Regions from separate parts of the Homo sapiens genome. Here all the other regions are linked to region 1. Evidence: promoter capture Hi-C in human tissues and cell types (Jung and others, 2019). All regions are on one chromosome and are shown on one strand. The core of a region is centred on a gene start or on the middle of the fragment in contact, and the rest is flanking DNA. Distances in the headings are between cores, read along the strand shown. Region 1 holds the start of EPHA4 (EPH receptor A4). Region 2 overlaps LOC105373893 (a long non-coding RNA gene). Region 3 overlaps LOC105373893 (a long non-coding RNA gene). Region 4 has its middle 610 kb from the start of MIR4268.

The links. The method cuts DNA at HindIII sites, captures the fragments that hold promoters and counts their contacts. A contact is called where the count stands out against the background at its distance.
Region 2: a fragment that was not itself captured here is called in contact with the fragment with the promoter of EPHA4 in region 1 in 1 of the 25 tissues and cell types used here (IMR-90 fibroblasts).
Region 3: a fragment that was not itself captured here is called in contact with the fragment with the promoter of EPHA4 in region 1 in 1 of the 25 tissues and cell types used here (dorsolateral prefrontal cortex).
Region 4: a fragment that was not itself captured here is called in contact with the fragment with the promoter of EPHA4 in region 1 in 2 of the 25 tissues and cell types used here (dorsolateral prefrontal cortex and heart left ventricle).

The regions. Positions count from the first base shown.
Region 1 is chr2:221,570,740-221,574,071 of GRCh38, reverse strand. EPHA4 (EPH receptor A4) reads left to right here and starts at 1,768. Exons shown (of 18, transcript NM_004438.5): 1 at 1,768-1,914. The coding sequence starts at 1,824. RefSeq lists silencers at 303-462, 513-792, 1,393-1,812. The HindIII fragment of the contact is 17,926 bases long and covers 1-3,332 here.
Region 2 is chr2:220,471,288-220,474,619 of GRCh38, reverse strand. All of the region lies in intron 4 of LOC105373893 (a long non-coding RNA gene), which reads right to left. Among named protein-coding and RNA genes, the nearest start is that of MIR4268, 570 kb to the right of the region's middle. The HindIII fragment of the contact is 9,613 bases long and covers 1-3,332 here.
Region 3 is chr2:220,491,391-220,494,722 of GRCh38, reverse strand. It overlaps LOC105373893 (a long non-coding RNA gene), which reads right to left. Exons shown (of 5, transcript XR_001739889.2): 5 at 1-1,578. Among named protein-coding and RNA genes, the nearest start is that of MIR4268, 590 kb to the right of the region's middle. The HindIII fragment of the contact is 5,873 bases long and covers 1-3,332 here.
Region 4 is chr2:220,518,737-220,522,068 of GRCh38, reverse strand. No RefSeq gene overlaps it. Among named protein-coding and RNA genes, the nearest start is that of MIR4268, 610 kb to the right of the region's middle. The HindIII fragment of the contact is 6,151 bases long and covers 1-3,332 here.

The DNA.
Region 1 (3,332 bases), core at 519-3,018:
AACTGTAGCAGTGACTCGAGACCTGTCCTCTCCTCGACGTCGCCCTATAACCCTCCCGCTTTATTTAGGATCCGCTTTTCCGAGAGCAGCCACTCAGGCAACCCCCGGAAGGTTTGTTAGGAGTTTCTCCTTGAAACGCTTTCCGATTCCATCTTTTGAAATCCAGCAGGCGAGAGTCACGACAGACTCCAGGACCTCTTGAGCGCTGTCCGCAGCCCCACGGTAGGAGTAGCCCTAGTGCACGAGACTTGGCGGTGGCTGAAAAGCTCGCCCAAACGCACGCACCACCTCTCTGCGGGGTTGCGGATTGCGGGTTGCGGTCTTTGTCCGCTCGCCCTTCCTCCGGGGCCGCACACTCCCGCATCTGGCCGGCAGGTGGCGCGGTTGGCTCACGATGAGCTGCGGCCGGGGCTGGAGAGGCTCCTCCACCTCCCAGCGGCCGCCCGGCCGCCGGGACCCAGGCTCCCCAGGAAAACTCGGCCCTGCTCTGGAGGGAGTCAGAGGAGGGGCGGCCTGGGAAGGGGAAGGGAGGCCTCATTGCTAGGAATCAGTGCCCCTGCCAGCGCCTGGGGAAATGCACCGAGTGGCGTTGGGGACCGGTCCCTGGGACACCGGCTGCGCTGCCTTCGCCGGACCGCTCTTAGGTGGCCGCGTCCACGGCTCGGGCATCGGGAAAAGACCACAGCCCGATGGTGCCAGTGCCCCCGGGGCCGGAGCAGCCGGGCGGGGCTCTGCGGGTCCTCCTGCTCGCCGTCTTCTCCCGGGGCAGGGAGGGCTGCCCCGGCTAGGTCGGAGCGGAGAGTCGCAGCAGCCGCTCCGGGCAGCTTCCCAGTCCCGGTCTGCCTTGTCTGTGCGGCTGCAAGTCCCCGCACCCACACTTAAGCCTTTCACTTCTACCCCACCGCTCCCAGACGGGCTAGGCCCGGTTCCAGGGACTGCCCCCAACCCTGCCCCCGGGAAATCCACAACTGGTTCCCTGCCCAAGGCCATCTCGGGGCGTCCTGGGCCCTGGGCGAGGTCCACGGCGTGTGCAGGGGGACGGGGCCAGCGGGGACTTCCTTACTGCTAGAAAGTCATTCGTTCAGTCTCTGGAGACAGTGACGGAGCCCTGCTGCGGACTGGACGTTGGGGACCAAGTAGGTCCCCGCTCTCCAGGCATCTGGGGAGCCAGGGAAGAAGCGAGTGATAGAGCCACAAAACTCCCCGCAAAGAGTATTTCAGAGGGGGAAGCGCCATAAAGACAAAACAGGGCAAGGTGGCAGAGGGTGGCGGTGGCAGGCGCGAGTCTGCAGCTCAGCCCGGGCGCGCTGGACGCAGACACGTCGACTCTCCTAAAGAAGCAACCGCAGGTCAGCTTAGACTTCTTTTATTTCAATAAAAGAGCGTTTTCCTCCATCTTAAACCGCCCGTGGTGGGAGAAAAGGTTTCCAACCTCTTCTCTGGCTCCCCTCGGTCAATTCCGAGCTTTTCCAAAGTCCCTCCGCCGTCCAGGGGCTCGACCTTCGAGGTAACGTGGGGGATCCCGCTGGCTCCCTCCGGCAGGCGGGGGCGGGGACCGGCCGTGCTCGCCCCCTAGAGCCCCGGGAGACCGCGCGCCCCGTGGAGCCCGGAGGGGGCGGAACCCTGGGGCGGGCCCTGCTCGGTGAAGGCGGGGCTCGGCCGCCCTGTCTGCGCCGCCATTGGCCGCGGGCCCCGGACTGGCGGGCTCACGTCACCGGCCGGGCCCGCCCCCTTGGCAATGTCTTCAGCCCGCTGCTCTCCTAACTTAAGCATTTATTCCACTGGGATAGAAGCGGCAGGAGCAGCGTTGGCACCGGCGAACCATGGCTGGGATTTTCTATTTCGCCCTATTTTCGTGTCTCTTCGGGATTTGCGACGCTGTCACAGGTTCCAGGGTATACCCCGCGAATGAAGGTAAGAGCGGGACGGCCTTTCTGTGGTCGGGGACAGCGAGGGGCCATCGCGGGTGAGGGGTCCTCAGGAGCGCAGGGCCAGGTGGTGCGGGGGGAGCCCAGTGTGAATGGTGCGTCCCGATTCGGGAGAAGGGGGCTGAGGCGAGGGGATCGGCGAAGGGGCAGCGGGGAACCGCCGGACAGCCTGCCCCGAGGCGGTGACCCGTGCACGCGGCGGGTCTGTCCAAGTTTGTAACCAAAGGCCAAAGTTTATCAGCATCCGCCAGAGAGGCCCGCTCGAGGCGCCCTGAGGGGATGCACGGGAGACAACGCCGGGATTTAAAAAAAAAATTACAAGAACCACGTCCTCTCCTGAGCCAGCCCGGGGCGAGGGGAAAACGCAGCCTGGAGCACAGTGAAGGCTTGGTGCTCCCGGATTCTAGCGAAAGCCTTTCGAGCTCTGGTTTCTGCAAAGTTTCCCGAGCCCTGCGCTTCTCGGGACCGGGCTGCGGGGCCTGCTCCGCAGCGCAGCGGTCGTGGCGCCGCTCGTCAGGCGCCAGTGACCTGATTTCTAGCACCCGGAGTCAGACACCTTTCTCCTCGCCAAGCCCAGCGCCCCGAGGGTGCGATTGCGGGCCTGAGGGGCCCGAGCTCTTCGCCCCGCAGACTTGGGGAACCCGCCGGCAAGTTGAACGCAGTCGAGTTTTAGCTTTTCGCCCCAGAATTGCACACAGTTTAGAGCTAACGTGCGGGGTCGACGGGACCCGTCTGGGTGCTCAGTTTTCTGTGCATCCGTTCGGACGTGCTGGGAGGATTGTATGTGCCTGTGTGTCTGTGTCGGGAGGTGGGGCGGGGCGGGGGGGCGGTGATCATTTAGTTTCTGAGAAACCCAGGGAGAGGCGAACTGTGTGTGTGTGTGTGTGTATGTGTGGTGTGTGTGTGCATGTCTGCGTGTGTGTGCATGTCTGCATGTGTGGTGTGTGTGCATGTCTGCGTGTGTGTGCATGTCTGCGTGTGTGTGCCTGTGTGTGTGCGCGCGCGTGCAACTGCGTGTATGTAGGTGCGCGAATGCCTGCGTGGAAGCGGACGCGGAGGATTGTATGTCTGTGCGCAGATGTCCTGAGTGTGTGCGCGTGTGTTCGAGTGTATGCTCGTGCTCTGTTCCAGCGTATGCTGGTGCTCTGGCCTGCGTGCATCTAGTCTCACATCCGTCTCTCATTCTTCTCCTTTCCGGCATCCATCTATCTATCCGTCCGTCCATCCGTCTATCTATCCATCCATGCATCCATCCATCTCTCCGTGCATCCGTCCGTCCGTCCATGCATCCATCCATAATGCATCCATCCATATATCTGTCCGTCCGTCCGTCCATCCATCCCTCCATCCATCCACCCATTCATCTATCCATCCATCCACCCATCCATCCATCCATTCATCTTT
Region 2 (3,332 bases), core at 421-2,920, 1.1 Mb after region 1:
ATCATCTTGTGGACCACTTTTGCTATACAATACCCCAATTTGCAACCCTTGATCATTATATACAATGACAGGTAGGAACGAATAGAGTCAACACTTACATAACTGGATCCTGTGTGCACCTGGGCTCTGTCAATCTGATCAAAGATCAGTCTCTTTGTTACCAGATGGGGACATAAGCATCAAGACCATGTTGCTACTTCCAGGGAACTCCAGTATTCTGTTATTTCAGGTCTTCAAAAGTGTGTCATAAAACTAAGCTGCTTCAACTTGAACTTCAAATCACAAAAGTATAGGCCATTGGTATAGAGATAAGAGGAATTTCCCAATGAAAATAGAAATGCAAATTATCCGGAGGTATTAATGATCATTTCATGGTCATAAACTAAACATTGAAACGAGAGCATTAAGAAGAAACTGTGTGGCCCTAGCTGCTCTCTCATAAGGTAAGACAGCAAGTAAGAGAGGTGGGTGAGAGAGAGACAGAGAGAGAGAGAGAGAGAGAGAGAGAGAGAGAGATGGAAGGGAGGGTAGTTTTAAGAAGGAAATAATAGTCTGTAGACTAACAAGAAATAGTACCTAAAAGACAGAAGAAAACGAAATTGGCCAAAGAAAAGCTAGTTGTGTTAGAATTGGAAGGTGGTCAACCATTCCAGGTTTAAAATAAATAAAATAAAATAAAATAAAATAAAATAAAATAAAATAAAATAAAATAAAACAGCAGGGGGAGGTGTCATCTGGAAAGAATTAGGAGAAAGATAAGATGACCAACTCATCCCAATTTGCCCAGGAATTTCCCAGTTTGAGCACTGAAAGTTCTGCATCTTGGGAAATCCTCCAGTTCTCAGGCAAATGGATATGGTTAGTCACCCTCAAAAAAGACTATAATCTAAGATTACATTCTTGTTTTATTTTAATATGACCCTCACATTGAAATTGTTGCATTCCCCTCTCTGTATTTAGTTAGATGCCAATTAGTTTTTGTTCTATATTTATTTTATATAGTGTGGAAATTCTTAAATAAGGAGTACAACATGTAGATATATATTCACATAAACATATATATGTATAAAACACAAACACACACACACACACACACACACACACTGCTCTTAAGAAAATGAAGTTATCTCTACCTTACTCAGCATCACCTCACATTACATGAGCCAGGAAGTAACTTAGATTTATGATCAAATCTAATCTTATGACTGAGTCTAGTTCTTAAGATTAAAAATGTATAAAATGCTTTGAAAACTTAAAAGCAGCATACATGTGAGGACATAAGCCCATGCTATTAATGATCTGATTATATTAAATACCACTAGGGAGAAACTATTTTTGTAATCACTGAACTATTTTAAATGTATAGGTCAGTTATGATAAGGACAATTGATTTCATATATGAGGGTAAATTCTAAGTTGAAAAACAGATGTAGTAAAAGTGTCAAGAGCAATACACTGGGTTATTAAAAATATAGCCATAATATTAAGATTGAGAAAGGCTTAAATTCAAGAATTCAGATAAATAAAACATCATTAACAAATAATGCAAAAGCATGAGAACTTGACTCCTATCTAAGATCACCTTTTCCATCTTCTACTTCTATCATAATGATTTTAAAACTGGAAAATGTAGGTAACAAGCACAATTATCAGGGAACCAGAAGTAAAGATGGTAGAAGATAGTTAAGTAACATCTCTCTGTTTGAAATGAATAGAAGTCATTAGACCCAAATGACTTATATACAAGGCCAACTTATGAACACATGCTTACATTGCTCTAAAAGCAAGGTGTTCTAGTAGATGAAATACATTTTAAAATAGAGAAATACAGTTAGGAACTAGTGACTACATACAGCTGAGCTTGATGTTGACCCTGGCTATATTCTGAAGCCAAAGAGCCAACATAGACAATCAACCAATCATGCTAAGCTAATTTTCATTACAAAAAAATACAGGCAAGGAGGTCAGAAAAATACCATACAAAGAATATATTTTGATATCAGCAAGTTGAAAATACTTTGTGATTTGTTTTACAGTTTCCCTGTATATCTATACACACATGCACACATGTTGTCTGTTGATAATGGATCAATAACAGACAAGTAGGGTGGAACAAGATGTCTGCAATAGATGTCATCCAGTATTTTTCTTAATTACTACAAGTCAAGATATGTCCTTGTCAAGTTTGTATTAAATACACATCTGGTGATAAAATCAGTTTTCAAAAAGAATTTGACAAACTAGAATTAAAGATTGTATTGATTCCTATTAAAGTCATGCACTTGGGCCTCAGAAAGCAACTGAGTCAGTGAAGTACAGTGGATACCTGATATCACTATGAGATTGTTTATAAAATGCTTGGGAATTTTGGTTGATATCAGTCTCTTTATGAGCCAATGGGGTGGCATGGTTGCCAAGAAAAACTAATGCCTACTTAGCTCACACCAGTAGCAGTATCATGTTCGAAACAAAGAAGACAGTGCTCGTACAGTGGCAGTCCTTGGTTTAATCCTTGTGGTAGTCCATTTAGACTTACATAACAAAGTTCTGTAGACTGGGTGGCTTATGAACAACAGTCATTTATTTCTCGCAGTTCTGTGGCTGGGAAACCCAAGATCAAAACATCTTCAGTTTCCATGTCTGGTGAGAGCCCACTTCCTGGTGTACAGACATTCCTCATGTGGTGAAAAGGGAGAGGGAGCTTTCTGGGGTCTCTTTTATAAAGGAACTAATGCCATTTATGAGGGCTCCACCCTTATGACCTGATTACCTCCCAAAGCCCCCATCTATTCATGCCATCACATTGGCGATTAGGTTTCAACATATGAATTTGGGGAGTGGGAGGTGGACAAACAGTCAGTCTATAGACGTGTGAATAAATATTCACATATACATACGTGTGTATGTCACACACTCACACATATAGCAGTCCAGATTAACTGAGGCTTATCAAGAACAGTGATACCAGAACTGTGAAGAGACTAGAAACTAGATTATAGGAGGAGTAATTATTAGAGCAAAAAAAAAAAAAATACTATAACTGGAGACAGAGCACAGTGGAGGCATGATAATTATTTTCAAATATCTGAAATTACATTTTAAAGAAGAGGAATTGAGCTTATCTCACAAATCTCCAGTGAAGGAAAGTCTGATCAATAGATTGAAGATTTGGATAGGCAAATGTCAACTCAGTTCAAGAAAGAACATTTCAAAAATTGTAGCTTTTTTAATCAAAAGAATGAAAAATCAGAATTGCTAACGGTATGAAGACATGGATATTTTCATATAATTGAAATGGGGATGGAAATTGGAGTTCTTTCTAGAGAAGCAAT
Region 3 (3,332 bases), core at 454-2,953, 1.1 Mb after region 1:
GTCACCCTATTTAAAGTAAGTTATTATAGAATGAGAAATAATTATAGAACATTAGGAGAGAAAGTTATACCCATAACATTAAAGTTTGTTTTCCTTTACAACACATAGGGCTATCTCAAGCTCAATCTCTTACTTATATTTTTAACATACAGTTCACACTTTACACATGAATGTCTATGTAACAGATCCACTAATTCTATTTGTAAATGCAATAGAAAGGAGTCAGCCGAAAATATTATCACTTGGCATTAACTTATTTAACTGGATGTCCAGGCTTGAATTCAGAAAAGCATATTCTATTGGCATAATTCTCCTCCGCGGAAATTTCATTGAGAGGAAAAGATACATCTTATTTTGAACTTAAGGACTAGTAAAATGATTCAACATTAATCACCAACATTAAGTGGTTACTTGATGCCAAGCACCCTGCATATATCCCATTAAATATATGCTAAACCTTGCTGTAGCCCCATTTCTCAGATGAGAAGCTTGGGTAAAAAATAGGAATACTCTGGCTACAACTAAACTAATTTGACTGACCCAAGTATATTTTATTTTCCTTTACCTAAAAAGCAGTGAAAACGCGATGCTGTCGGGATCTGGGGCAGTGGCTCAATGACATCGTCTGAGAATCTGTTGTCTTTCTGTCTCGGAATCCTCAGCATGTTGGAATATTGTGAAAGGATTGTCTGCAAGATGATGGTTGCAGGACCTGGCACCACATTTTCTGTTTGTATCAGTCAAAGCTGGTCAGGAAAATAGAAAATTTTCTAGGCATTTTAAACAGAAGAAGGATTTTACTGGAATTGAGTGCTTACGGAATTGTTGGCAGGGAGGTCTGGAAGAATGGAGGTCTGTGCAGATTACTGCTGGAGTGTTCAATACCTCACTCATGACCTAATAAGAGGAACCACTTAATTATTTCCAACAAAAGGAAGATGTTGCCCTCAAAGCATCTGGGTCTTCTGGCTCCTGGTCTGGGTCCTCTGGCTCCTGGTCTTTCATCTTGTTAATCTGTCTTTCTCTGTTCCTCGGAGCTACTCCATCAGTCAAAAGGATTTTCTACAAAGTCCTTTTAATTTTCTAAGAGAGTGTTAAGAAATAAGGAGATGTTATCTGCCTAGGTTTCTCAGCCCTCTGCTTGTGAGGTTTCCTTCTTTTTGTTTCAGTAGTTCTCCCTTTCCCTCGATGAGGAGGGGCAGAAAGAGAGACCTGTCACGTTCTAGGGCTCGCTGCTTCCTTGGAACACAGCGGAAATGGACTCTCTCTTTTATTTCAGGGCAGATTGGCAGTGATGACATCCAAGAACAGCTATCCTTTTCTCAATTTGGATCCTGAGAGTGGGGTGTTCTTTCTTCTTCAACAGAAATATTCGATGCAGCCAGCAAGCGTAATTTATCATGACATAGAGCAAAATAGAAACATTCTTGCTGAACACGCCCGGCCTTTATCTCCTCCTCTTATTGATACATACAGGGTATCCCTGGAGAATCAAAGCCAATCTTGGTGGCACATGCTCCACTGGTAGCAGTTTTATCAAGCTCATATTTTTTTCGCAGATGAAGGAATGATGACCACCTGACAAAAGGACAGCAGAAGCAGAGGTTTCCAAGGATTTCCTAGCAAACTCTTAAAACAGTGACTGACTCTGTGACTTTGGACAAGTTACTTAACATCCTTGAAGGTCCACCTACTCTAAAAATAATGGAAATATTTCCAAGCACACAGTCACTGTGAGGGCTAAATCAGGCATTTAGGAGGAGGGGTAAAGCACAGATGACAGTATTTGTATCACCTGAAGCTCTTACTCCAAGTCACAGGCAGCTTTTACTTCCCCAGGTGACACTCTTGTTTGGACTCTTGTGTAAAGGTCATTCCTTGGGAAAACAGGGCATAAATCCACGTGATTCAATGATTGTAACCTACATCTATGTAGCTTCTTTTCAAATAAAGAAACCAACCTCCAGTAACCTCACTTTTATATTTCACTGAAGTCACATTACATATCAATATTATATAAGAAAATGCAGCTACGTATGCTTGCTCCTTTTTGTACCTTAAAGGAATCTAAAGTTTCATTTTGCTATGGTGTTCTTTTATTTATTAAATATTTTTATAAGCATTACTTGGCAGTTGTATCCATACACCCAGACATAAAAAAGTATGCTGTATTTTATAGCCAAGTTAACAGTATCTTTTGACTATTTTTGATGTTTGCCCCATGCCCCAAGAACTGAATTGAAAACCTAACTCCTAATACAGATGATACTCGGCTAAATAATTGATATTCATGTGAGTGGGCTCTGAGTCCAATGGGTTGGAGTCCAAGCTCCACACCACATTGTATATTAGTTGAATTATTTAAGCTCTCTGAGCCACAGTTCCAATATCTATATGAATGATTAAAACAACGTCTGGTAATTTGTAAACACTCAATAAATATTAGCTGCTATAATATTATTATTGTTACCTTGTTATTCCTCACTGATACCTAGCAATACTTACATTACCCTAAATAGGCTCTTGGATTCTCTAAATATGTTTCTCAATAAGCATGCAGCTTTTCTGTTCCAGTTTATTATTGGTAGCTTTTTTTCCCCCTAAAGTTCTTTAAGCATGAGAAATATTAAATTCGAAAGAACTAGTTTTTTAGGACTCTGGCCTGGACATTGAGTTGGAAGACATTATTGTCACTGAAGAAGAGAATAACAAAGAGGAAAGGCTTCCTTGTGTCCTCATTTTCACTTTGATGTGCCACAAATAAAGAATAAGCTGACACTCCTAAAATATGACGACACCATATTGTTGTTACTCCGTATCCTGGCACCTCAGTTCCCCTGCATGCTGCACAGGCTGCTGAAGCCTTTGAAGTTAGAAAACACTACTGCCTGATCGCCAGCGCTCATAATGAAGACACAGTATGGTAAATCAAAAGAGACATGTCACCTCATGTCTACACTCCCTTCCCAACAGGGAGAGGCAGGAAGGAGGAAGGAGAGGAAGAGGAGGAGGGGGAAAGCAAGCTCAAAATTGTGATTATAAATCAACTGGTCCTGCCTCTCAGGAGTAAAAGACCAGCAACTTTTATATTACAACTCAATCCCATCTTGCGTCTTCAAATCAATTTCTCTTTCTTTTTTAATGTTTTATCATCTTTAAATTTTTTTAATAAATAATTTTTCTTCTAAAAAAGAAAGAGGAATGTCATTTCTTTAAAGAAAAAAAAGATGTGTCATTTGTCTTCTTCTGGGGGAAATAGATGCATTTTTTAAATTCATTTTTCTTTGTCATAAGCAATTGTTGTGTCATAAATTTAAAACAGGTTGTGCATT
Region 4 (3,332 bases), core at 563-3,062, 1.1 Mb after region 1:
CATAAAATATGCAACAATTATAAGAAAAGATTATACTCAGCTTTAGGACATATTCATTTCATTGTAAGGCTATGAATACATTGATCAATCTCAGCAGAACCCTGCCCAGATCTGCCATACTTTCCATTTCTCCTATTCTCTACCTGTGGGCTGAAACGCCACATTTTCTTTCCTTGGAAGCAAGTCTTTCCCAGTAAGATTTTGGGCAGCATATTATGCCACCCCCAGGCCTGCTGGCGGCGGAGGAGGACATAGCATCTCCAATCTGCTCTTTTCTTTGAGGCATTCTAATTGGAAGTCCTGCCTGGAACACATGGTCAGAGTGAGGAGCCAAGAGCAGAACAAAGGACAACCACTCACACGCATTTCTTCTCAATCTGGTCCAGGCTTTCTGGCTCAGCAGGGAGGTCAACGCTGCAAAATACTAAATGGTGAAGGGTCAGCAGGTGGTAAGTGGTCACATCCCTGACAAGCCCTGGACATGAGAGAAGAAAGATTGGCTAGACAGATTTTTAAAGGAACTAAAATGGAGACTGGAAAATTAAGATAAAATGGAAGAGGGAAATTTAATGGGAAATTCACTACTCTAGACTTCCCTGCCTAATGCCCTTCCAGGATTTAAAACTGCTGAGAGAAGCTACAGCTTTTCTTTCCTTAAAAACTAAAAAAAAAAAAAAAAAAAAAAAAAAAAAAAAAAAATTGCTAAGGAGATATACTCCTGACATTGTGGAAAAAAAAAAAAAAATTGAGGTGGAAGTAGCTAGATTTGGATTTTAAGCCAAGCTCTTAAATAAACTTATTTTGTGGTCTTGGGGATATATTGTTGCTTCCAAGGGCCTCAGTTTTACTTAGTGTGAAATGGACTATAACCAGTGGATTGTATCAACAGCTCTAACTCTGTTGTCTAAGGACCTCTCTCACCAACCCTGTGAAATCTTTAAAAAAAAAAAAAAAAAAAAGGTGCGTGAAATACTGTGTGAATGTACAGTTTTCTTAGAATAGAAGGCTTTCCTCAGACTTGCAAAGGGATGCCCGATGGTGAGAAAGGAGACATTGGATTGATGAACCCTATGATTCTTTATAATGCTTAGAGAATAGGGTTTTACACTGTCATGTGGGTCCCGACTGTGAAATCAGAATTGTTCCAAGGAAGTTGTCTACATCAGGCAGTCTCAAGCCAATAGAACTTTACCCCAATACCGAGTCCACTCTACCTCCAGCAAGGGGAGGACTTTGCTAAGAAGTGAAGCTCAAGGTTTTGAAAATCTGGGCTGCCAACCCTTCCCCTCCCTGAAACTCACTGTCCAGCCTTCTTGCTAGCCTTCATCTTTCCCATTCCTCCTGGCCACTGGAGAAGTACAAATCCTACTCATCAACAAAGACAAGTCACCTGCTGACTCTTTCATGGCCAGAACGACAGAAGTCAGTGAGAAATAATGTATGATCTGATCTAGGAATGTCTTTACCTAATTGTTTAAGAATAAAAACAGTCAAATATCTCTCCTACAGATAATCCACATGTCAAAGACTGATAGATGGGAGTAGAAATAGAAGTCTACTTGCAAATGTTTCATGAAGCTTTTTCCAAGGCAGCCAATCCTCAGATGTTTCATTCCACATTGCCTTAAAAACTCCTGGTTCTCAGCAAAAACTTTTCTTTCTACCACCCCTATTTGAAGCACATGTGCGTGGACATGCACACACACACACCACACATAATTTTCGTTAAAAAGTAAAGTAAATATTAAAAAGACAGAAGGAACAAGAGTACATATCTGAAATTCTGGAGACGCATTTTGTTTTGTTTTGTTTTGTTTTGTTTTGTTTTGTTTTTTGAGACAGAGTCTTGCTCTGTGCCCTAGGCCAGAGTGCAGTGACACAAATCTCAGCTCACTGCAACCTCTGCCTCCCAGGTTGAAGCGAGTCTCCTGCCTCAGCCTCCCAAGTAGCTGGGACTACAGGTGTGCACCACCATGCCTGGCTAATTTTTTCTTCCTTCTTTCTTTTCTCTTTTTTTGTACTTTTAGTAGAGATGGGGTTTATCCACATTGCCCAGGCTGGTGTCAAACTCCTGACCTCAAGTTATTGCCTACCTCAGCCTTCCAAAGTGCTGAGATTACAGGCTGAGCCACCCCACACAGCCTCTTTTTTTTTTTTTTTTTTTTTTTTTGCATACAGAATTTTGAAAATTGGATTGAACAAAAAGGAAGAAAAGGAAACAAAGAAGAGGAAGAAATGGAATCCTCTAAAAGTTCCGTAACACTCTCATATGCCCTTCACAAGAAAACACTTCAATTGAGAATCTTAAAAGTAATAAATATCCTCACATTAGCACAGGTCAAGTTTTACCAAAAAGGTTTCAATCAGGAACTAAGTTACAATTTTTTAAGTGGTTAGAGCTGTTTAGATTTTGGAATTGTGGCTAATCTACTACGGGTTCCCAGTCACTCTCTCTGTTTTATTTTATTATTGGTTGGGATCTTAACCAAGATATGAGATAATTATCATAATCTATAAGTATTTATTATCATTTGTAGAAGATGGGGCACTTGCTTAAGATGACAAAGCTTTTCTCATTAGCTGTTTATAAGCCATAGACAATGCAGAAATTAGAAACACTGCATGACCATAACATTGTATAAATTCCATGTCATTCACAATATAAATTTAAAGTGCTTCTGTTTTAATGTGAAATTTGGGAGGGAGGACAAATTTGCTGCCTGTCTAATATCCACTCTTCCATTCCTTTTCTGGTTAATATTCCTTCCCTTCCTCTTCCATTCTTCACCTTGGTCATTATTTTCTCAGGGAAGTCTTCTTTGCCTGTCCTAACTAGTCCAACTTGCCTTACTAAAACTTTTCATGGTCATGGTATCATGTATGTTTCCTCCACTGAAAATACATAATTATTTGCATGATTTTTTAAAAATAGTACCTCACTCCACACGAGACTGTAAGTTCCCTGAGGCAGAGACTGATTCTTTTTTTTCTCACTATGATTTCTCCAGCAACTAGCAAACATTAGGCATACAGTAGGTACCTAATAACACAAATTGATGGGATGGGTGGACGAATGGGTGGATGGATGGATAATTGATTTACTATCAGAGAGGTCATTAGTGTCAGACTTAGATTAAAGTGAAAATAAGGCTATGTCTCATTTTACATACAGATAAGAGCAAATACATATGGGTGAGAGATTCCAAGACGTTATTTACAGTAGCTACATCCAGTGCCACAGTTCAGGTCTCCAGGTGTGCTGATAATAAGAGAAATAATTTGGAAATTTCAATCTCCATTTTGAACAGAACCAGTTTAGGAACTCCGAAAAA